Linked DNA regions of Homo sapiens: regions 1, 2, 3, 4, 5 and 7 are each linked to region 6. The links are contacts of gene promoters, found by promoter capture Hi-C in blood cells and fetal thymus (Javierre and others, 2016). All regions are on one chromosome and are shown on one strand. Each heading gives the region's core, a stretch centred on a gene start or on the middle of the fragment in contact. The rest is flanking DNA. Distances are from core to core; before and after follow the strand shown.

Region 1 (2,742 bases), core at 204-2,703, 270 kb before region 6:
GTTTAGGAAAGATAACATCTGAGACGCCAAACTGTCAATTTGAAAAGATGTTCAGGTTTGTTTTCCTTTAATTATATTTGAATGTAGTAATTTTTGTTTTAAAATGAAATAGTAACAATACACAGTTCTCACTGCAGCCCTTCCTAGCCTGAAATAGTTGTCAAAATTTAAGAAAAGGTATTTGATGTTGAAGGATTCTGGAAACTTAATCCCAAAAGTTTCTCCTGTTGTTTTAAAGTCTTATATCATTTTAAGCATGTTGCACCAATTAATCATAGTTAATCCAGTGACAGTTTTTCCCTACAAAATACATCTGTGAGGGACATCAAGGGGACTGTTAAGATTCAGCATTCTGTCCATTTGCCAATTCTCATTTTCAAAAGGGGAGGAGAAGACAGATTCTTTGGTAAAAGACATAATCTTCAGCATCGATACTCTAAGGAGAATCCCATGTGGATACTTGCAAAGTTGTAAATTATCAAACTATAGAATAAACTCAGAATACACAAGTCTCCCAATTTTTTCTCTGTGTGAATTATGTTACGCATGCTAGTTTTCACCAGACTCTAACAAAGTCTAGTCTTGTTGAATAAGACCTAAGAATTAGTCTCTAGAATGCTACCAAGTGTAAAGTTGATTACAATATCAGCAAGCCCAATTCCCAAATACTGCTATTTCGAATTTTTAGTTCAAAGAGTTGGATTACCTGGGACTAAACCCTTCTTGAAGGAACTAAGGTTTTTCCAATGAGATATTCATCACAGTTATTCATAATATTGACAAAACAGGAAATACATGTCCATCAGGGGATTAATTAAACCTACCTATATGGTCAACTAGTGTACAGCAACTTTTGTTAAAAAAAAAAAATCCTTATTATTGGAAGAAAATATGTCAAACCATCTTTTTCTGTTCTCTCAAATTTTTTCCTGCATGTTCTCTCTATGTCTTCTACAATGAGCATAGTTTACTATGATAAAGAGCGGGATGGTGGGGGTGGGGGAGTACCAAAAATGATTGGGTTGTAGTACTTCAGCTAAATCTATACACTGTTTTGTGTGTGGTTTTCTCCACTGTTTTATACCATCTAGAGACGAATTTATAAATTCCTTTTTATTACTCCATTTTCCAGGTAATTACTTAACTGCTTGGAATTAATTATATGATACTATGTTTAAATTTTTTTCTTTTCTCAAATAGCTCATCAACTGTTTAAATAATATTTGTTGAAATACACACATTCCATTGATTTATAAAGCTTCTATTGTTGGACACTGATCTCCTATACACAATAGGGTCTGCTTCTGGAGTATTGGTTTTGTTCCCATAATTGTTTTTACCCTTGACACTTAATTCTTGAACCTATAGCACACTGATACAATTTTTGCAGCTTTGTAGTATATGTGGTTATTATTTGGTCCTTGGAGACAGAATCAATCAAGCACTTTAACTTGGTACTGAATGTCCCTAAGTAAGCCTCATCTGTAAAATGGAAATGTTAAAACCTATCAAATGGTGTTTTGTGAGAATAAACTATATGTGAGTTAAATAAAATAGAATGAAATAAAGTGTTGTAAAACTTTTAGCACAGTACCCAGAACATAAGACTTTAATTTATCATAAGCACTACAATCTTTTTTCCTTTGCACAAGCTTTTTGTTTGAATTGTCCTTTTTCTTTCCCTTACTCTAGGTGTTAGCTCTTATTAAAATGTCCACTGAGTCTTTTAAACTCTGTATGATTTATTCCAGTTGCCTAGTCTGCAATTATTATCTGTTTCACTGAATGATACTTAGCATATGATACTTTGGAATGGTTTTGTACTTAAGTTTTGGTTCTGCTTCCCAAGCTAGATTTGAAGCCCACTGTGATGGAGAAACGTATCTTATGTCTTCTATGTCTCTCCCTCTTTTTTCCTCCTCTTATCTCTCGAAATTACAAAATTCATTCCCTCTCTCTTTCTTTGATGACAATTTGATGACACACCAAATGTTCTCACTGAGAACTGCATAATTACCACTGATTCAGAGACAAGTATATAAACATATGAAATAACTTTAAAAAGATATAGAACTAAATTTAAATTTTAGATATTTAAAATTTTATACTTTTAACATATTTTAAGATAATCAAATGATTATTTAGATAAGTAATAAAAGTCAATGTAAATCTATCATATTTTGCTGATTACTTAAAAAAATTTAGGATCACATTACCTAGTTGAGTAATTTTGGGAACATATTATCAAAAGTTTAATGCCAAGTTTTGCTTATGATTACTGACAGTGTTACTGTATCTTGGAAAGATAACAGAGCTAACATTTTTAAAGTTGCACAATCACATTCTGGATGGTGTATGTCCCTAAGTTCCCCCTCTTTAGGCTTCCAAATAATGTGTCATAGTATATTTGGTATGAAGTAATTCACACCAAAAAAGAATTAAAAGATCTATTTTGAACTGATGATATGATCCAAAAAGAAAAGAAAAACACATTTTTAAAGGGACATAAACAGTTCATGCCAAAAATGAAAACAACTTTACTGATGACAAGAAAGAAACATCTTCTGGGTTCTATTTTTTTTTCAAATTCTGCTTCATTGTTTATCCCTCTTTTCCACCAAGCCCAAAAGACATTAACTTATGTTTCCAGAAAAGTGGTCTTACAATTCTGGCTAGTACCTAAGTACAATTATATAGAATCCGGAATTCTCACAACCTATCCGCATTTTCAAAATCTTGGAA
Region 2 (2,963 bases), core at 373-2,872, 410 kb before region 6:
CTGAAAAAAATTAATAATGTTATTTAAAGTATTTTAAAAGTAAGTTTAAACAAGACAAGCAGCTGAGTCCATTCTCTGAAGCAATGCTGGCAAGACCCAGGAATTTATACTGGCTGGACAGTATGAGGATGGCTAATTTGCAATTTGTGCCCAGGAATATGTAATTTACATCTACTTCCTGAATTAACAAATCTAATATGCACTAGAAATAATTTTCCAAAGGGTAAAGATTTAGAAAATATCCGAGAATCCGTGTGATCTACCTTACCTAACCCCTCTGTTATCAATGCAGTACTTCTTTCTTCCAAATCTATCCTTCTCTGTCTTGCTTTGTGATACTGGAACTGGCCCTTATAAACATTTCTCCTTTGCCAAAATGCAGAATATTAAGCTTTGCCAGTAAAGGTGCTGAAGGAACACTGCAGTAGAAAGTGTATTCTCTTCCTAGTTCTGGTGTACTTTCTCCTTCTTGCTCCTGTGGTAAGCACCTAATGGTGGTGTGTGGGACCACAGTGGCAGTGCTATCTATAAAGTTTCAGTGGTACCCCAGGTGGTAGCTTCCTATCAAGTTTCACTAGCACCCTAGAAGTTTCACGGCCATCCTAGTGGGGGGCTTCCTAGCAAGTCTTGCCAGCACTCCAGCAGGCAGTTTACTGCTTGCCAGTTCTGGTCTCTTGAAATTCGATGCCATCCAGTGGCCACAACACCTCTCCAACATGATCTGAATCAGCCTAGATCTGGGAAGGGGCTCTCTTCCAAGTTTGCTTCTTTGTTAGGTAGTATGCCTGAGCCCTAGAGGTAGTAGTTGCTCCCTATATTTTATTCCTGCATTCTTACGAATTCTCTTTACCTCTTAGTAGTTAATCCCCTATTACTACTTAATAACTCCTTATATTAAAATTTCTGGTCAGGCGTGGTGGCTCACCACTGTAATCGCAGCACTTTGTGAGGCCAAAGTGGGCAGACAGCTTGAGTCTAGGAATTTGAGACCAGCCTGGGCAACATGATGAAACTCTGTCTCTACAAAAAAATACAAAAATCAGCCAGGCGTGGTGGCTCACCCCTGTAATTGCAGCACTTTGGGAGGCCAAGGTGGGCAGACAGCTTGAGTCTAGGAATTTTAGACCAGCCTGGGCAACATGGTGAAACTCTGTCTCTACAAAAAAATACAAAAAATCTGCTGGACATGGTGGTTCACACCTGTAATCCCAGCACTTTGGGAGGCCAAGGCAGGCGGATCACAAGGTCAGGAGATCAAGACCATTCTGGCCAACACGGTGAAACCCTGTCTCTACTAAAAACACAAAAATTAGCTGGGTGTGGTGGCACGTGCCTGTAGTCCCACCTACTCGGGAGGCTGAGGCAGGAGAATCACTTGAACCTGGGAGGTGGAGGTTGCAGCGAGCTGAAATCGCGCCACTACACTCTAGCCTGGGCGACAGAGCGAGACCCTGTCACAAAAAAAGAAAAAAAAAATTAGCTGGGTGTGGTGGTGTGTGCCTGTAGTTCCAGCTACTTGGGAGGCTGAGATGGGAGGATCACTTGAGCCCAGGAGGCAGAGGCTGTAGGGAGCTAAGATTGTGCCACTGCACTACAGCCTGGGCAACAGAGTGAAACACTGCCTCAAAAAAATAAAAATAGGCCAGGCGCAGTAGCTCATGCCTGTAATCCCAGCACTTTGGGAGGCCGAGGCAGGTGGATCACCTGAGGTCAGGAGTTTGAGACCAGCCTGACCAACATGGTGAAACCCCATTTCTACTAAAAATACAAAAACTCAGCCAAGTGTGGTGGTACATGCCTATAACCCCAGCCACTTGGGCAACTGAGGCAGGAGAATCACTTGAACATGGGAGGAGGAGGTTGCAATGAGCCGAGATTGAGCCATTGCACTCTAGCCTGGGCAACAAGAGCTAAAACTCTGTCTCAATAAATAAATAAATAAAAATAAAACAAAATTTCTCTGTTCAAATTACTGGTGTGGTTTCTGGCTCCTGACTAGACCTTGACTGATTCATCCCTAAACCAAAATAACCCAAAACAAACTCATCCAACAACAAACCATGCCAACCACAAAAAATCAAATCTAAGCCCACCACTAAAACCTATGTATGATTAATCTGCTAACACAGAGAAACAGTATGGCAGTTACCAAACTTGTTAACTTATTGCTTCCTGAAGCTGACTGTGCATGTAGCTGAATAGTAAGTCAGCTGCTACCACAGATTTACTGTTTATGATTGCATATTTCAGAAGGATGTATTAAATGCATTGTTCTGAGTGTGGGTGGTTATCTAATTCTTTACAAGTCCTTCACGGGAAAAGAAATTTGCTGGTTTTTTCTGCCATAAGAATGAATCTATTTATGAAAAAGCATAGATATAACTGTAGTAAGTGACAGAATTTTAAAAAATCACTGTGAACATTCCAGAAAGTTCTCAGAAGGTTCGCAGAAATTACCAGTAAAGTTAAACTCTAATTTCTGGCTTCAATGTCATTCATTCAATAAATATTTACTGAGTGGCCCTGGGACATAGCAGTAAAGAGGACAGACAATATTCCAGCCTCATGAAATTTACTTTCTGTGATGGGGAAAAAACATGTAAACAAACCAATATGCAACATAAATTCAGGTGTTATGAAGTACTATAAAGAAAATTAAGGAAAAGGATGTAACGGGTGTGGGTGGTATTTTAGGAGATGATTTAGTGTTCTATATTAAATTTCCTACACATAGCATGCAATAAATGTTATAATAAATATAACCGCAGATATATCTTAGGCATGCTACTAAGAGGACAGGATTTTCATGTAGTTCCATAATAAATCAAACTGAATACATTTATGTAAATCATAACAAGCTTATATATGGACCAATGAAACTTACCCTATAGAAAGCACTGGTCAAAGGGAGTAATGCTGCGGCAATGTTGTATTCTTCTAAACTTGAACAATCCTTTAAGCAA
Region 3 (2,865 bases), core at 85-2,584, 480 kb before region 6:
TTGGCTCTATGCAACCTCTGCCTCCCGGTCTATGCAACCTCTGCCTCCCGGGTTCAACTGATTCTCCTGTCTCAGCCTCCTGAGTAGCTGAGACTACAGGTGTGCACCACCACGCCTGGCTAATTTTAGTATTTTTAGTAGAGACAGGGTTTCACCATGTTGGCCAGGCTGGTCTGGAATTCCTGACCTCAGGTGATCTGCTTGCCTCAGCCTCCCAAAGTGCTGGGATTATAGGCGTGAGCCACCGTGCCCGGCCTACTTAGTATCTTTTTAAGGGAATTCATCATTATATGGGGGTGAGAGGAAGAGTCTAAGATTCTGTGACTCCATTGTGAGACAGTGGGACTTCACAGTTGAGATATCTGGGGCCAGGTGCTTTCTCACGCCTGTAATCCCAGCACTTTGGGAAGCCCAGGTGGGAGGACTGCTTCAGGCCAGGAGTTCAAGACCAGCCTGGGCAACATAGTAAGACTCTGTCCCAAAAAATATTTTAAAAATTTAGCTGGGAGTGGTGGCACACACCTGTAGTCTTAGCTCCTTGGGAGCTTGAGGCAGGAGGATTGCTCAAGCCCAGGAGTTGGAGGCTGCAGTTAGTTAGCTATGACAGTTCCACTGCACTCCAGCCTGGGCAACAAAGTAAGACTCTGTCTTAAAAAAAAAAAAAAAAGAATCTGGTCTGGAATTTCCTCTGCAGAGTGAAAAGAATCTCACATAAACTTCCAGAGAACAAAGTGGATGACCTTTTGGAGCTTAAAAGAATGAATACTTAGCCTTTCTCTATTTCCTCATGTCAGCAGCTACCTGGATATCATGATGTCTTATCCTCCAAACCAGTATTTCAGAGGACAGGAGCAAAAATAACAGGACTTGGAGTTCCTTCGATCTGGAATCACTTCTCCTTAACTATCTATACTTCTGTGATAGATTGGTCTTTCTGCCCTGCAAATCTGGAGTATCAGGGAGTACTCCCAGGGCTGACTCATCATTTAGACATGCTCCCCTTACCTCTTAATGCTCCCAAACTTATCAATATATATGACATCAGCAATTATTATACTTCTTGTCCCACAAGGCTAAGCTCATCTGTCATCATGCTAGTAATACATTTGACCATTCATTCAGAAGAGGGTAATTAAGAACAATTTGAATCATAATTAATTGATTTAAAATATCAACTATCTAGAAAAATGCTTTCTGCTTTTAAGCTTGCATCAGTGCTCAGTTATAAAATCAATCTTACTAACCTCCTTGAGCAAAGCTATTGGATGGGTTTACATCCAAATGTCCTGGCACTACCTGCTTAAGCACAGTGGACATTCTTGAAGTCCTCCTTTCAGTCCCTAAAGTCAGCCAAAAAGAAGAACAAAAACCATGTTGTTTGGGTTAACATTACTCAAATGACAAAAAGTTATCTTCAGGTGTAGCATGTTTAACTGCTGCCAAACATTGTACTTTTAAGTACCCAAAGCTTTATTAGAGATAACAAGGCAATGTTATTATTAATCAGAGATAACACACATTTGCAAGATTATAGAGAGTTAGGTTTGGCAAGTGCAATCAGAGAATTTAATGATAAATGGAGCAAGGCATGCATGGTGTTATTTTACAAGAAAAGCCACTTTCTGCTTATGTTGAGCTAATTCAAATAGCTGATTAAGCCAAAGAGACCAACTTCTCAAGTCACATGCTCCTGTGTCTAACACATTAGGGTTACCTCTACATGAACCCTTTGGGGTTCCATCACATGATAACTGAAACAGAATATTAGTACAAGTCTTAATGGCTTCATCCAAATCCAGTGAAAACAAATTGTACTGAAAATCATAATAGGCTGCAGATATTTTGGGAATTTCAAACTTATAAATGATGATTTTAATAAATACACATTTAACAAACATGTTCCACTTACATATTCCATGTCATAAGAATATTTTAAAGTCTATGAAAGATAAATATGGGAATAAAGGGTGACTTTATTTATATTTCCCACTTCCTCTCCAATTACTCTTTTGAAAAGGAAATAACTGAGCTGGGTATGATAAATATGGGAATAAAGGGTGACTTTATTTATATTCCCCACTTCCTCTCCAATTACTCTTTTGAAAAGGAAATAACTGAGCTCACACCTCACACCTGTAATCTCAGTACTTTGGGAGGCTGAGGCGGGAAGACTGCTTGAGCCCAGAAGTTCGAGACCAGACTGGGCAACACAGTGAGACCCCATCTCTTAAAAAAAAGAAAATAAAACAAAAAAGAAAAAACTGAATCTCTAAGTTAAGTTACTATTTACTAGACATTAATAGTGGTAGATTTCTAAGTAAAAGGAGTTAAACTTATAACCCTTCAGGGTAAAACTTTTAAGAAGTCTTGGTGAAGGAACAGTACAAATAACAAATAACAGTACAAATAACCCTAGGAACAGAACTGACCTTTCATTAGAAGCTGTCAAGAAGAAAAGTATTATCAAATCTTACCTGGAGATAGAGCAAAGGCTGGCCTGACAGTAAGAGTGCTGTTGCCTCTGAGTTTCTGATGGACAGAAACAGCATTCAGTAAGGCTTGCAAGTATTTCTCTTGTTCTATGCTACTGGAAGATTCTAAAGAGGAGGTAGGAGCTATAAAAGGAAAATATATTGAATAAAATAAACTGTCTCTGTGTTAACAAAACAAGTATCTATCTATCTATCTATCTACCTATCTATCTATGCTTATTTTTCTCTATATAGTCTACAAGTTACCACACCCAAATATAGAAACCAGCCCCACTTAAATTGCCAGTCTATTAAATGGCTAATCCTCCACTGTAATGCTGGTTTTACCACACCTACTTCTTGATTGCCTCATTATGCTTCCAGAAAGAGCCCA
Region 4 (2,740 bases), core at 235-2,734, 490 kb after region 6:
TATTTTTTAGAGACAGGGTTTCACTATGCTGCCCAGGCTGGTCTTGAACTCCTGAGCTCAAGTGATCCTCCCACCTCAGCCTCTTAAAGTGCTAGGATTACAGGCATGAGCCACGTGCCCAGCTACAATTTCCTCTTTACTGATGTTTTTAAAAAAGCTTAAATCGAAACTTGTACAGTCACTCCCATGTATATAAGTAGCTATACTCCTTGAAAAGTTAGCTACCTCTAACATCTTATACACCACTAGAATTGATTCATTGTGTAGCTTTACTTAATAATAGCTTCAAATAGTGCAGAATGAAATGTACAGGTGAAGACAAACTACTAACTAGGACTACCTTGCCTGTATTTCAGTTGAAAAAGGCTCTTAACTTGAAGTTAATACCAAGCAAACTGAAGTAAGCAGACCAAATTTTTAACAAAAGACTTACCTGGAACAAAGCCTTGCCTTTTCCCGGAAACTCTTGGGTTATATCTTCTTTCCAAGCCAAGAAAGCTTCTTCTTCAATAATTTCCATGTCATAGAAGTGCACAAAAAAGCGAAGTAACATGCCTTAAAAAAAAAAAAAAAAAGAAAAAAGTAATAAGCCCATTATTTAGTGTTCTGTTTAAGAACTTCCTCACGCCGTTCTTCTGATACAAGTCCTCTCACCTTTTGGGAAGTTGCTGTTATAGCAGTGCACCTGGAGAGCATACAGGGCACTGACTTGTAGATCAACGTGATCATGAAGAAATTTCTGCATTACTGGCTTGAAAGATAGTAGTAGTTGTTTTTCCTGCTCTAACTGTTCTTTGGAAGGAGCAGAGGATGAATCTGTTTCATCGCTGGGGGGGTTTACTTCACTAGAAATGTACTGTAAGAAGCTGGACAGAAAGAGGTCTTGTTAGAACCCAACAGTGAGTTTTCTTGCTCAAGAGACAACTCTTAGTCTCCTACGCTTCTTTTCCAGTACATGAAACATTACCATATGCAGAAAACCATTCGTCTTACCTAGTCATTAAGATGTTCACAAATCCTTTATCTACATGAAGTTTGGGAGAGATGTTATCTTTAATCCATTTATATATGGTTTGAGGGGATGGATCCAACTTTATTTGCTTCAACAGTTCCTTCTCCAATTTGAGGAGTGGGAATAAGAAACTCAGTCCCTTTCCTTCCAAAATCTCCAACATGCGGTCCTTATTCTGATCAATTTCTGAAGAGACAAAGCCACCTGCATCATCTAATAGTTCATTTTACCAAGTTGTCCTGTCCAGAGAGCAGAGCTTCACAAATGATGTCCCCAAGTATGTAAGATCCATGTAGCAGAATAGAGAACCAACCCAGCAAATGAAAAAAACTCAACATACGGATCAAATGAAAGTAGTTAAATTATAAATCTCTCTTTATAGGTGAGATCTGTGGTAATGTTTATCATTATCTGAGCAGGACAATCAGACTGTCTGACCTACATAAATCCACTCAAGGTACCTGAAATCTCTAGATATAATATTAAAAAAACAAAACAAACAAGTCAGCATTCTCTTACCTGGGAGCATTTTCTGCATATTGACCTTGCTTTGTTGAAAAAGTTCTGTTAACCATTCTCGATCTTGTAATTTAGCTAACTGCTGAAGACAAAGTAGGAAGAGAGGAAAATGGGTGCCACTTTCTAGTGGTTGAGCTAGTTCTGAAATGCTCACCAGCTCTGAAATGATGGCACGAGCTGCAAACTGTGCTAAATAGGATTTCACCAAAGGGATGTCAACCTCCAGTTTGGGACACTGGTCCAATACATTCAGGAAAGCCTTGAAAGAAATATACAACAGTTTATCAGTTTTCGAATTTGAGTGGTAAGAGTTCTTACCACACAATCAGTAAAGTGTCCTACCTGCATGAAGTTGTCACTTGTGGCTATCCCTTCCTGTTTGAGTAAACTGATCAAAGAACTTGCTTTTTCTTTATCTTCATCGCTTCTATCTAGTGACAGGATGATTACTTTGCTTAACATCTCAGGAAGAAAGTGTTTAGGAGCCCTCATTTCTCTTACACCATTGACAGCCTCATTTGCATTTCCACTATTTAGATATTCAGTCACAACAGTTTCCTGTGAAGAACACAAGTATCTTTAATGTATTCTCTATCTCAAATACAGGCTAATTACACTAAAATGGGATATTTGAAACTTACAGTTAGTTTAAGGAGTTCTTCCTTTGACGGTGGTGGCTTTTTGCTGGTCTTGGCAGGCTTTTCCTGGATAAGCGGTGGATTAGTTTTGAGACCAAGCTGAGGTGTCTAAAAAACAAGCAATGACAGACTTTTTTTAAAAAGAGGACTATGAAATTAGGGGGAAGAACACACTAAATTTAGAAAAAAGTCTTCAGATATCTTTAGAAAATGCTGTCCTACTATGGTCTGTACCTGTCCCAGAGGTGGTGTTTGAGTGCGTGGTGGTTGTGCACTAGGAGGAATCATAGTTATCTGGGGCTGAAGCTTTGGCACTTGATTTTTATTCATTAGGAACGACTGAGCAGGCCTCAGGCTAATCTGGAATTGAAAACAAAATATATCTAAATTAACAACATGCAGTTGGCGAACATATTAAATACAACATTCTAAAATCCTATACAGTGACAGAATCTAGGGAAACATTAAGCTTTTTGAAAAACTAAAGAAGGTACTCCACATTAACAGGTTTAATTTTTGGCAAAAAATTTAAAGATCTGATGCATACAGTAGTAAGATACTATTATAAATC
Region 5 (2,921 bases), core at 18-2,517, 430 kb after region 6:
GCCCTTTCCCAAAACAAACCCCCTTCCTGCCTGGGAACTAGACTGCCTTTGCAGGACTAACAAATTTGCCACAAGATTAGAAATTGTGGTTTAGGAGTCATGCAGCTGGAGGCTGTAAGATTCTGAACCTTCCCAAATTGCATCCTGGGGCTAACATCACTATTGTAAAGCCTAAGATCAGTGTTTGAGATATTTTGCAGACCCTGCCCTCAAAGGATGAGCTGGTACCACCCAGATTGATAAACTGGCTCATCCAGTCATGTGGCCCCTACCCAGGAACTGACTCAGTGCAAGAGGACAGCTTCAACTCCCTATGACTTCATATCCCACCTGACCAATCAGCACTCCCCACTTCCCGACACCCTACTCGGCAAATTATCATTAAGAACCCCAATCCTCGAGTTTTCAGGGAGACAGCTTTGAGTAATAATAAAACTCTGGTCTCCCACACAGCTGACTCTGTGTGAATTAAACTCTTTCTCTATTGCAATTTCCCTGTCTTGATAAATTGGCTCTGTCTAGGCAGCAGGCAAGGAGAACCCAATAGGCAGTTACAGTCACATCTTGGTGTGTCCCCTCATGTGTGTGTGTGTGTGTGTGTGTGTGTGTGTGTGTGTACTGTACAGAGTGAGTTGCTTCTAACATAATAGGACTAAAGTGATGGGGTGTCACTTCTGAGATTAGGCTATAAAGGACTATGACTTTCATCTTCCTTGCATCTTCTCTCTCTCTCTCTCTTTCTCTCTCTCTCTCTCCCTGCTAGCTAGGGAGTCAAGGGGGGGTACCCAGGACACAGAATTGAAGAAGACACTCCTTCTCTGGCCCATGCAAGTGCAGGGTCAGCACCTGAGAGTGAGTGTCTCTTCAAATGCTGTGCCCCGAGTGCCTTGCCTGCCTCACCTTCCTTCTAGCCAGCTCCCAGGGCAGACCTGACCTGCACCCCTATCCCAGCCTTGACAATCTCTGAACAGGTCCTGGCCAAGCATGGTGATCAGATTTCCTACCTCCTCCAGCTTGATTTCTGGGCCAGATGTCAGAGATAGGGGGCACCCGGATCTCTGAGAACCAGCTCTTCTGTGCCAGGCTTCCTGGCACCGAAAAACCAAATATATTTCAATCCCTCTGTCCTCATGTCTCCATGATGGATACTGGTCTTTTGTATAGTCAGCAGGTCCTTCTCCTTTCATACCAATAGACAATGACAGAGGTAGTCCGAGTCGAAGCCCACCGCACTTCCCACCAGCTTGCTCCCAAGCGCCAAAAACAGAAAAAAGCACTGTGCATGAGCTGCTTTCCCGTGCCCTCTCAGTATGGCGTAGTATATGAGCATGGCAACGTTTACCAGGAGGGGATTTTAGAATGCCTCCGAATCTTCCAAGCACTATGTATTTTAATGTGTATGATGACAGCTATCATTTGAGGGATGCTAGGCACTATGCTAAGTGCTTTACTTGTGGTTTTTGGTTTGATTTCCTCAAAGACCTTAGGAGGTAGGTCTCATTTTTAAGGTCTTAATAGGTTTATTAACCTATTAAGTTAATAGGTTAATAGAAACTCAAGTCTTAATAGGTTTATTAACTTGTGTGAGATCACGGTTAATACACCGTGGCCCTGGGACTTGAATTCAGTCTAGCTGGGCTCTAAGCCTGTGTGCCCAGCACTATGCCACACTGCCTCCCCAGCAGAGTTTGACTTTCCAAGGCCCACTGGGCTTCTCCTTCCTACCATGATCAGAATCCTGGTATAAGAGTTTCTCTGCCAGGTGCAGTGGCTCACGCCTGTAATCCCAGCACTTTGGGAGGCAGAGGTGGGCAGATGACCTGAGCCCAGGAGTTCCAGACCAGCCTGGCCAACATGGCAAAACCCCATCTCTACTAAATACAAAATTAGCTGGGTGGCGGCTTGCACCTGTAGTCTCAGCTACTCGGGAGGCTGAAGCACAAGAATCACCTGAACCCCAGAGGTGGAGGTTGCAGTGAGCCAAGATCGTGCCACTGCACTCCAGCCTGGGCAACACAGTGAGACTCTGTCTCAGAAAAAAAAGAGTTTCTCTATTCTCCCCATCCCCCCTCTGTCACTCCCATGAAAGTTTAACTAAACATGAGAAGTTAAGTAAACATACAAATAAAACTTGCCTTCTACCTCTTTAACATGTCCCTTCCCGAGAAGCCCACCTAGACCAAATCACAGGCAGGAGGCCGCTATGGGGGTGGCAAATGGCATTCTGTTCTGGAAGGGCAACCACAAACTTTAGAGCCAAGAAGCCCTGGCTTGGAAGCCCAGTTCCACCCCTTTGTAGCTGAGTGGGTGATTCTGTCTCTGAGCCTCATTCATAATCTGTAAAATGGGGAAAGCAATGCTCACTTTTTAGGGTGCTTAATTCACTCATTAAATGAATACATTTAAATATATATAATATATACTGATATAATTGAATATATTATATATATAAATAATAATCCTGTGCCCTGAGAGCCACCATGTCAGCCTAGGTTTCCTGCTCTTTGAAATTTCCAAACATTGGCTGGAATCTCATCTTGGCCTCTGCAAGGAACAAGATCTATTTAGAGATTTGTTACAGATTTCAATTGTGTCACTTTCCTTTTTAAGGCAAAGCGGCTACAGTGGGCCATGGTTTTAAATACTATTTTCTTCTTCTCTGTTATATGCATAAGGCTCCAAGAACTGTGTCAGGTGCATGCGGTTACTTTGAGGACCAAGAGGACAAAGGAGGGGGAGGAAGGAGCAGTCCTCCTTAAAGAGGAGGCTGGACCCCTCCTGGGCTTTCCCATAAAAAAGTTCTGGGAGCAGTAGATCCATTCTGAGATTTTCAGGTATAAGAAACAGAAAATGGCCGGGCGCAGTGGCACCCACCTGTAATCCTAGCTATTCAGGAGGCTGAGGTGGGAGGATTGCTTGAG
Region 6 (3,017 bases), core at 117-2,616:
CCGTCGAGTCGCTGGGCTTCAGGACATTCGATTAGAGGAGTGGTTAGTAGGACCCCAGAAACCCACAAGCACGAAGCAGGAAGCCCCGTGGCTTAGCCTTTCCTTCCCAGTTTGGCCCCCAGGAGAGAAGTAAGAAAGAGAAGAAGCTGTGATGAAAGAGCACAAACGGGTGACAAACGTGTCTAGCGTGATTCATCATGAACAGGCACAAATTCTTTGGGCGGGGGCTAGGACTCTCCTTTGCCCCTTGAGAAGTTGGTGACCCCAGCCTAGAGGAATCCACGCCGCGCCCCAGTCGGCCGTGCTAGCGTGTCGGGCCGAGTAGGGACTCTGCTGCTTCCTACCTGCAGGGTGACTTCCCCTCTCTGCAGATACCTCCCCTCTCTGAGCTTGAATTTTCTACCTGCTGAAATGGGAAAAGGAATGTTACCTTCCTTGCCTGACTCAAGGGTGGCTGTGAAGCTCAAAGTAGACTGGGATGTGGCCGTGCTTGGTAAACTGTAAAATGATTAGCATACGTGAAGCGTTAGTGTGCTCCCTGGCAGTCAGTCCTCACGTTTACGATGGATTAATGAAGGCAGCCAGGCACAATCTCAGGTTATGACCTTATAAGGCATAATAGGATTACAAGGAGGCAAAATGAAACAGTATATTTCCTCCTAATTTTGGTTATTCCTATGTTTCCAAATAGAAATGAAAATTCTGAAATTTCAGATAATTCCCCCCTCCAAATCCCAATTCTCAATTTAGCTTTTCTGAGCCTTGTCCCTACCGTGAAATCTTACTAGCTCACCCCGAAACGCCGGGGTCTTGGTCCTCTGGGGGACTAGTGAGTCCTGCTCCTCTCGGCTTTGCTCCGTCCCTGCCCCGGCCCCTCCGCGGGAGTCTGGGGTCGCGGCCCGGTCAGGCGCCAAGCCGGCAGGGGGGCGCGGTCCACTTGAGGCCACAGCTCCCCAGGTCCAGGGCTCGGGCCATCCGCGCTGTCCCTTCCGCGGGCTCTTGCTGTTCTTCGCCAGGAGGCTTTGCACTCCGGGCCGCATGGGTCCTGGATAAGGACCTCAAGAGGTTGTAGTGGCGCCCCTTCGCTCCGGCGTACTGTCTGAACCCTGTGCCCAAAGAGGGCTGTGGCAGTTCCTGCACCAACCGCCTGGAGCCCATACCTAAGCCCTCTGGGCACGAGGGACCTCCTCTCCCCCGCTCCCCCCTCCCCCCATCCCAACTCCAGCCCCAAAGGAAGCAATGCGCGCGTCCGAGAGCAGGAGCGCGCGTGGCTGAGGAAAGAAAGGGAAGGCAACCGGGCAGCCCAGGCCCCGCCCCGCCGCTCCCCCACCCGTGCGCTTATAAAGCACAGGAACCAGAGCTGGCCACTCAGTGGTTTCTTGGTGACACTGGATAGAACAGCTCAAGCCTTGCCACTTCGGGCTTCTCACTGCAGCTGGGCTTGGACTTCGGAGTTTTGCCATTGCCAGTGGGACGTCTGAGACTTTCTCCTTCAAGTACTTGGCAGATCACTCTCTTAGCAGGTAGGTGCCGCAGACCCTGCGGGTTAAGAGGTGGGGTGGGGGGCAGTGCTTGCCAAGGCCCTAAACTGGGAGCGCTGGGTGAGGGGAACAACCCACTTTGGAGGGTTCTCTGAGAGATAGATACACCCCATATCCTGGGCCCAGCTCGTGCACACAGCTGGAGGTCCAGAGACCCAGTCCCCTCTGCTCCGTCAGCCAAGTTCCAAGAAGTTGAGCAGAGACCCTCTGGGAGCCTGGCGGGGTGCAGCGGCCTCCCCTGCGGGGCCTGTCACCCGGCCGGCGCGTGCAAACGCCTCTGGCGCCTCTCTGCGCGGAGGGAGATAAGCGTCTGAGCCAGGGAAAGCGCGGGCTAAACCCGCCTCGCCGGGGCCCCTGCCCGCCCTCCGTGCCCCGCCCGGGCGGTGCAGCTGGCCCGGGTGCTCACGCTCGACTCTCTTTCTTCTTTTCCAGGGTCTGCGCTTCGCAGCCGGGATGAAGCTGGTTTCCGTCGCCCTGATGTACCTGGGTTCGCTCGCCTTCCTAGGCGCTGACACCGCTCGGTTGGATGTCGCGTCGGAGTTTCGAAAGAAGTGAGTCCGGGCAGCGCCTTCCCCCTTGCTGGTACCTGGCAGGCAAGGGGAACTGACCGTTGGTCCCGAAGGTCTAGAAGTGAATGGGAGCAGGGACAGGCCTGGGCGTCACCTGAACGCACGCGAATCGGGTCTGCTTGTGTTTTCCAGGTGGAATAAGTGGGCTCTGAGTCGTGGGAAGAGGGAACTGCGGATGTCCAGCAGCTACCCCACCGGGCTCGCTGACGTGAAGGCCGGGCCTGCCCAGACCCTTATTCGGCCCCAGGACATGAAGGGTGCCTCTCGAAGCCCCGAAGACAGGTAACTACGCCCTGTGCTGTCCAGGGACGGGAGGGAAGGAAGGTGTGCGGGAGGAGTTCTCTGTCTCCACTCCCCTGGCCCGGGGGATCGTCGGGGCTGGACCGCAGCTCAGATGGCGCGAGCAGTTTCCAGCTCCCTCTGGCTCTAGAATGGCTCCCGTTCCCGGTGTTGGGGCCAAAGCTCTGCTTGATGGGGTCTCAAGTTGCCTTTCTTCCCCCTCCCCCCGCCCGCAGCAGTCCGGATGCCGCCCGCATCCGAGTCAAGCGCTACCGCCAGAGCATGAACAACTTCCAGGGCCTCCGGAGCTTTGGCTGCCGCTTCGGGACGTGCACGGTGCAGAAGCTGGCACACCAGATCTACCAGTTCACAGATAAGGACAAGGACAACGTCGCCCCCAGGAGCAAGATCAGCCCCCAGGGCTACGGCCGCCGGCGCCGGCGCTCCCTGCCCGAGGCCGGCCCGGGTCGGACTCTGGTGTCTTCTAAGCCACAAGCACACGGGGCTCCAGCCCCCCCGAGTGGAAGTGCTCCCCACTTTCTTTAGGATTTAGGCGCCCATGGTACAAGGAATAGTCGCGCAAGCATCCCGCTGGTGCCTCCCGGGACGAAGGACTTCCCGAGCGGTG
Region 7 (2,801 bases), core at 258-2,757, 310 kb before region 6:
TTAATGTCTCCTAAGACAGGTAGAGAAATGTTGATAATTGATTAGTGAGAATGCCACAAACTTAAACTATGGCTCTATGATTTTGATAGACTAAATGTAACTCCAGTTTGAAGTAATTTCAGCTATCTTAGCTTCAAATTAGACCTTTCTCCCTAAAACACTGACAAAAGAATTACTGTATTAGGGCCTTTAAAAATAAGACTTCTATTTATACAATCACTATTAAATTTTCAAAAATATTTTAAACAACCATTTTTTAAAATGTAATATTTTAAAATATGAGTAGCTTTTGGAGTATGAGTGGTTTTCGGTTACATGGATGAATTACATAGTGGCGAATTCTGAGATTTTAGTGCACTCATCACCTGAGTAGTATACATTGTTCAATTATTTAAAATTCAGTTGTTCAAAAATTATATGTATTTCCAAGGCATCTTATAATTTTTTGTAATTTTTATAATCCACATTAAAATATCGAGATTTGATAAGCATAATAAATAACATTGGGATTATTTAATACCTAATTTATATTTGACTATATAAATATGGAAAATGTTACTTTTTACTTTTAACTACTAGTCTAATTATGTCTATAAATAATGCCTTCATTTAATAAGAGCTATACCTCATCAAAGAGATCACAAGATCTATAAGGAGGACCTCTTTCTGAAACAAAACCTGCAAATGCCATTCCACTGAGTACTTTAGTGAGGAAATCATTCTCGACCAAACCACGCTGCCCCAAGAATGCTGTCTGTGAAAAAAGAAAATGTGAAATAATAATTTATCACTTGGTAACGGACAAATGGTCAAAACAGAAATACAATAAAAAGATCAAAGCCTATATAAATCCCTTCATGTATAAATATATGCTGTCATAAAATATATTTCTCTCAAAGAGAGTTATTCTGAAATACTACATATATTGAAAAGAATAAAAATGAATCTGTCTACATGTCAGGAGAAGAAATCAGAAATTAACATTCAATTTTAAAAGAAAAATTGATTTAAAGTTAACATATTCTAAGATATTATGAGTTCCATATTATTATTAAGAACTGATATCTAACCACACAGAGATTTTAAATAATCACATTTGATAAATCAAGGTCAAAATAAATGGCTCGGAAAAAAAACCAAGTAGTTTTATTAAATTAGAATATATTTTTTGGACAGATACAATATAGTACTCTATCTTACCTTGTGGAAATGTATTACTGGCTCTGCATGAATTCTTATAAGTTGCAGGCAGGATCTATATCCTTGGAAGAGTTGTGCAAATAATCTAAGGAAAACGGCTCGCACCTCTTTATCCTAAAAATATAAGAAGAAATGTTAGGTAATTTAACTTTTTAAAAACAAATGAAATATCAAGTCAAAAAGGTGAAAAGGGCATATATTCCAAGTCCTTTGATTTTTATATCCACCAAAACAATTACAGTCACAACCAAACATAAGAAGAAAAAACTCTCAAGATTGTATTTAATCCAGCTTTTATTGGAATCACAGTTTAGAACTGTAAGGAAACTTACAGATTCTGTTAGTCAATGCCTTACTTAATTGATCAGGAAATGAAGGTCAAGAATGCTTAAGTATATGTGTTCAGCTCCCTGAGGTTCCTTATTGGCTACAAAGCCCACTGCTAAGAAATGCACTGAGCAAAATAAAAAAGGGGCCTCTGTTATATACGTAACCTTTTATGGCTTCTAATTGAAACTATTTTCATCCACAGACTCTTCAAACTTGATTCTCTCCTATAACCAACATTCTTTATATCCATTCTTGTAAGCATCTCTTTTGTTTTGAATCCTTGTGTGGCCATTTCAATTTGATGCTTGGCACAGTTTTCCAGGCTATAATCTAGGCTCTGATTTTCTGTCCTACACTTAACTCATGCCTCCTCAGGGCAACAGTCTTAGCCCTAGTGGCCTCTTGCCCAGTGAACTTCCCTGTGGCTCCTCCTTGAGCAGGACATAAGGACAGTCAGCGGCAAGTATCCTAATTTCTAATTTGGGGCACTTTTTACTCTGCTGTCCATCTAACTCTAACTTCACTTAGCTTCTTTAACAACCCTATAAATAAAAATACAGCTCTCTTTAACAGCATTAAATTTAAATATTAAACTTCTTACCAGCATTTTTGAGTGGGATAAAGCTGTTCGTGGAGGAGGAAAAGCATGATCTGCTACTTCCAAATCTGGGTGTAAAATCTAAAGCAAAAAAGTTTTGTTATGTAAAATATCATAATATCAATGAAATCTATTATTGAGACATTAAGATGAAAATGTCAGCATATGAATTATAATATATTCCCTCCATGAATACAATTCAATTAGCTGGGGTAGTTCTATATGTACTATTGTAGAAAGATCTCCAAGACAAAATATTCAGTTGAAACATGTTCGGCCGGGCGCGGTGGCTCACGCCTGTAATCCCAGCACTTTGGGAGGCTGAGGCAGGCAGATCACGAGGTCAGGAGATCGAGACCATCCTGGCTAACACGGTGAAACCCCATCTCTACTAAAAATACAAAAAAATTAGCCGGGCGTGGTGGTGGGCGCCTGTAGTCCCAGCTACTTGGGAGGCTGAGGCAGGAGAATGGCGTGAACCCGGGAGGCGGAGCTTGCAGTGAGCCGAGATTGCGCCACTGCACTCCAGCCTGGGCGACAGAGCGAGACTCCATCTCAAAAAAAAAAAAAGAAAAGAAAACATGTTCTAGAAAAATACACATAGTATGGCCTAATTTATTTGAAAATAAAACAAAATAAACCCTAAATCTATATATGTACATATATATATATA

The links. Contacts are between HindIII fragments. The CHiCAGO score rates a contact against its expected background, and 5 or more counts as called.
Region 1: a contact is called between a fragment that was not itself captured here and the fragment with the promoter of ADM in region 6, in 1 of 17 cell types (M1 macrophages). The highest score is 5.1, in M1 macrophages.
Region 2: a fragment that was not itself captured here is called in contact with the fragment with the promoter of ADM in region 6 in 1 of 17 cell types (M1 macrophages); the score reaches 6.0 in M1 macrophages.
Region 3: a fragment that was not itself captured here is called in contact with the fragment with the promoter of ADM in region 6 in 2 of 17 cell types (M0 macrophages and megakaryocytes); the score reaches 5.6 in M0 macrophages.
Region 4: a fragment that was not itself captured here is called in contact with the fragment with the promoter of ADM in region 6 in 1 of 17 cell types (neutrophils); the score reaches 5.2 in neutrophils.
Region 5: a contact is called between a fragment that was not itself captured here and the fragment with the promoter of ADM in region 6, in 8 of 17 cell types (endothelial precursors, M0 macrophages, neutrophils and 5 more). The highest score is 14.1, in endothelial precursors.
Region 7: a fragment that was not itself captured here is called in contact with the fragment with the promoter of ADM in region 6 in 5 of 17 cell types (endothelial precursors, M2 macrophages, M1 macrophages and 2 more); the score reaches 8.0 in endothelial precursors.

What each region holds. Positions count from the first base shown.
Region 1 is chr11:10,036,779-10,039,520 of GRCh38, forward strand. All of the region lies in intron 3 of SBF2 (SET binding factor 2), which reads right to left. Among named protein-coding and RNA genes, the nearest start is that of SBF2, 260 kb to the right of the region's middle. The HindIII fragment of the contact is 394 bases long and covers 1,257-1,650 here.
Region 2 is chr11:9,893,059-9,896,021 of GRCh38, forward strand. It overlaps SBF2 (SET binding factor 2), which reads right to left. Exons shown (of 40, transcript NM_030962.4): 17 at 2,885-2,953. The region is part of intron 1 of LOC101928008 (a long non-coding RNA gene); the gene reads left to right. Among named protein-coding and RNA genes, the nearest start is that of LINC02709, 140 kb to the left of the region's middle. RefSeq lists enhancers at 585-1,085, 1,086-1,586. The HindIII fragment of the contact is 2,467 bases long and covers 390-2,856 here.
Region 3 is chr11:9,826,882-9,829,746 of GRCh38, forward strand. It overlaps SBF2 (SET binding factor 2), which reads right to left. Exons shown (of 40, transcript NM_030962.4): 28 at 2,475-2,615. Among named protein-coding and RNA genes, the nearest start is that of LINC02709, 69 kb to the left of the region's middle. The HindIII fragment of the contact is 263 bases long and covers 1,204-1,466 here.
Region 4 is chr11:10,798,559-10,801,298 of GRCh38, forward strand. EIF4G2 (eukaryotic translation initiation factor 4 gamma 2) reads right to left here. Exons shown (of 22, transcript NM_001418.4): 15 at 2,404-2,529; 16 at 2,173-2,277; 17 at 1,874-2,089; 18 at 1,532-1,790; 19 at 994-1,198; 20 at 655-866; 21 at 434-555. Among named protein-coding and RNA genes, the nearest start is that of SNORD97, 1.7 kb to the right of the region's middle. The HindIII fragment of the contact is 1,977 bases long and covers 497-2,473 here.
Region 5 is chr11:10,731,362-10,734,282 of GRCh38, forward strand. No RefSeq gene overlaps it. Among named protein-coding and RNA genes, the nearest start is that of CTR9, 18 kb to the right of the region's middle. The HindIII fragment of the contact is 7,606 bases long and covers 1-2,921 here.
Region 6 is chr11:10,303,707-10,306,723 of GRCh38, forward strand. It overlaps ADM (adrenomedullin), which reads left to right and starts at 1,367. Exons shown (of 4, transcript NM_001124.3): 1 at 1,367-1,523; 2 at 1,974-2,092; 3 at 2,243-2,392; 4 at 2,626-3,017. The coding sequence starts at 1,995. The coding sequence ends at 2,935. It also overlaps a transcript of SBF2 not described here. RefSeq lists silencers at 279-338, 829-928, 1,109-1,158, 1,839-1,888, 1,909-1,958 and 1 more. The HindIII fragment of the contact is 5,037 bases long and covers 1-3,017 here.
Region 7 is chr11:9,991,790-9,994,590 of GRCh38, forward strand. It overlaps SBF2 (SET binding factor 2), which reads right to left. Exons shown (of 40, transcript NM_030962.4): 10 at 2,132-2,209; 11 at 1,201-1,314; 12 at 626-754. Among named protein-coding and RNA genes, the nearest start is that of LINC02709, 230 kb to the left of the region's middle. The HindIII fragment of the contact is 4,497 bases long and covers 1-2,801 here.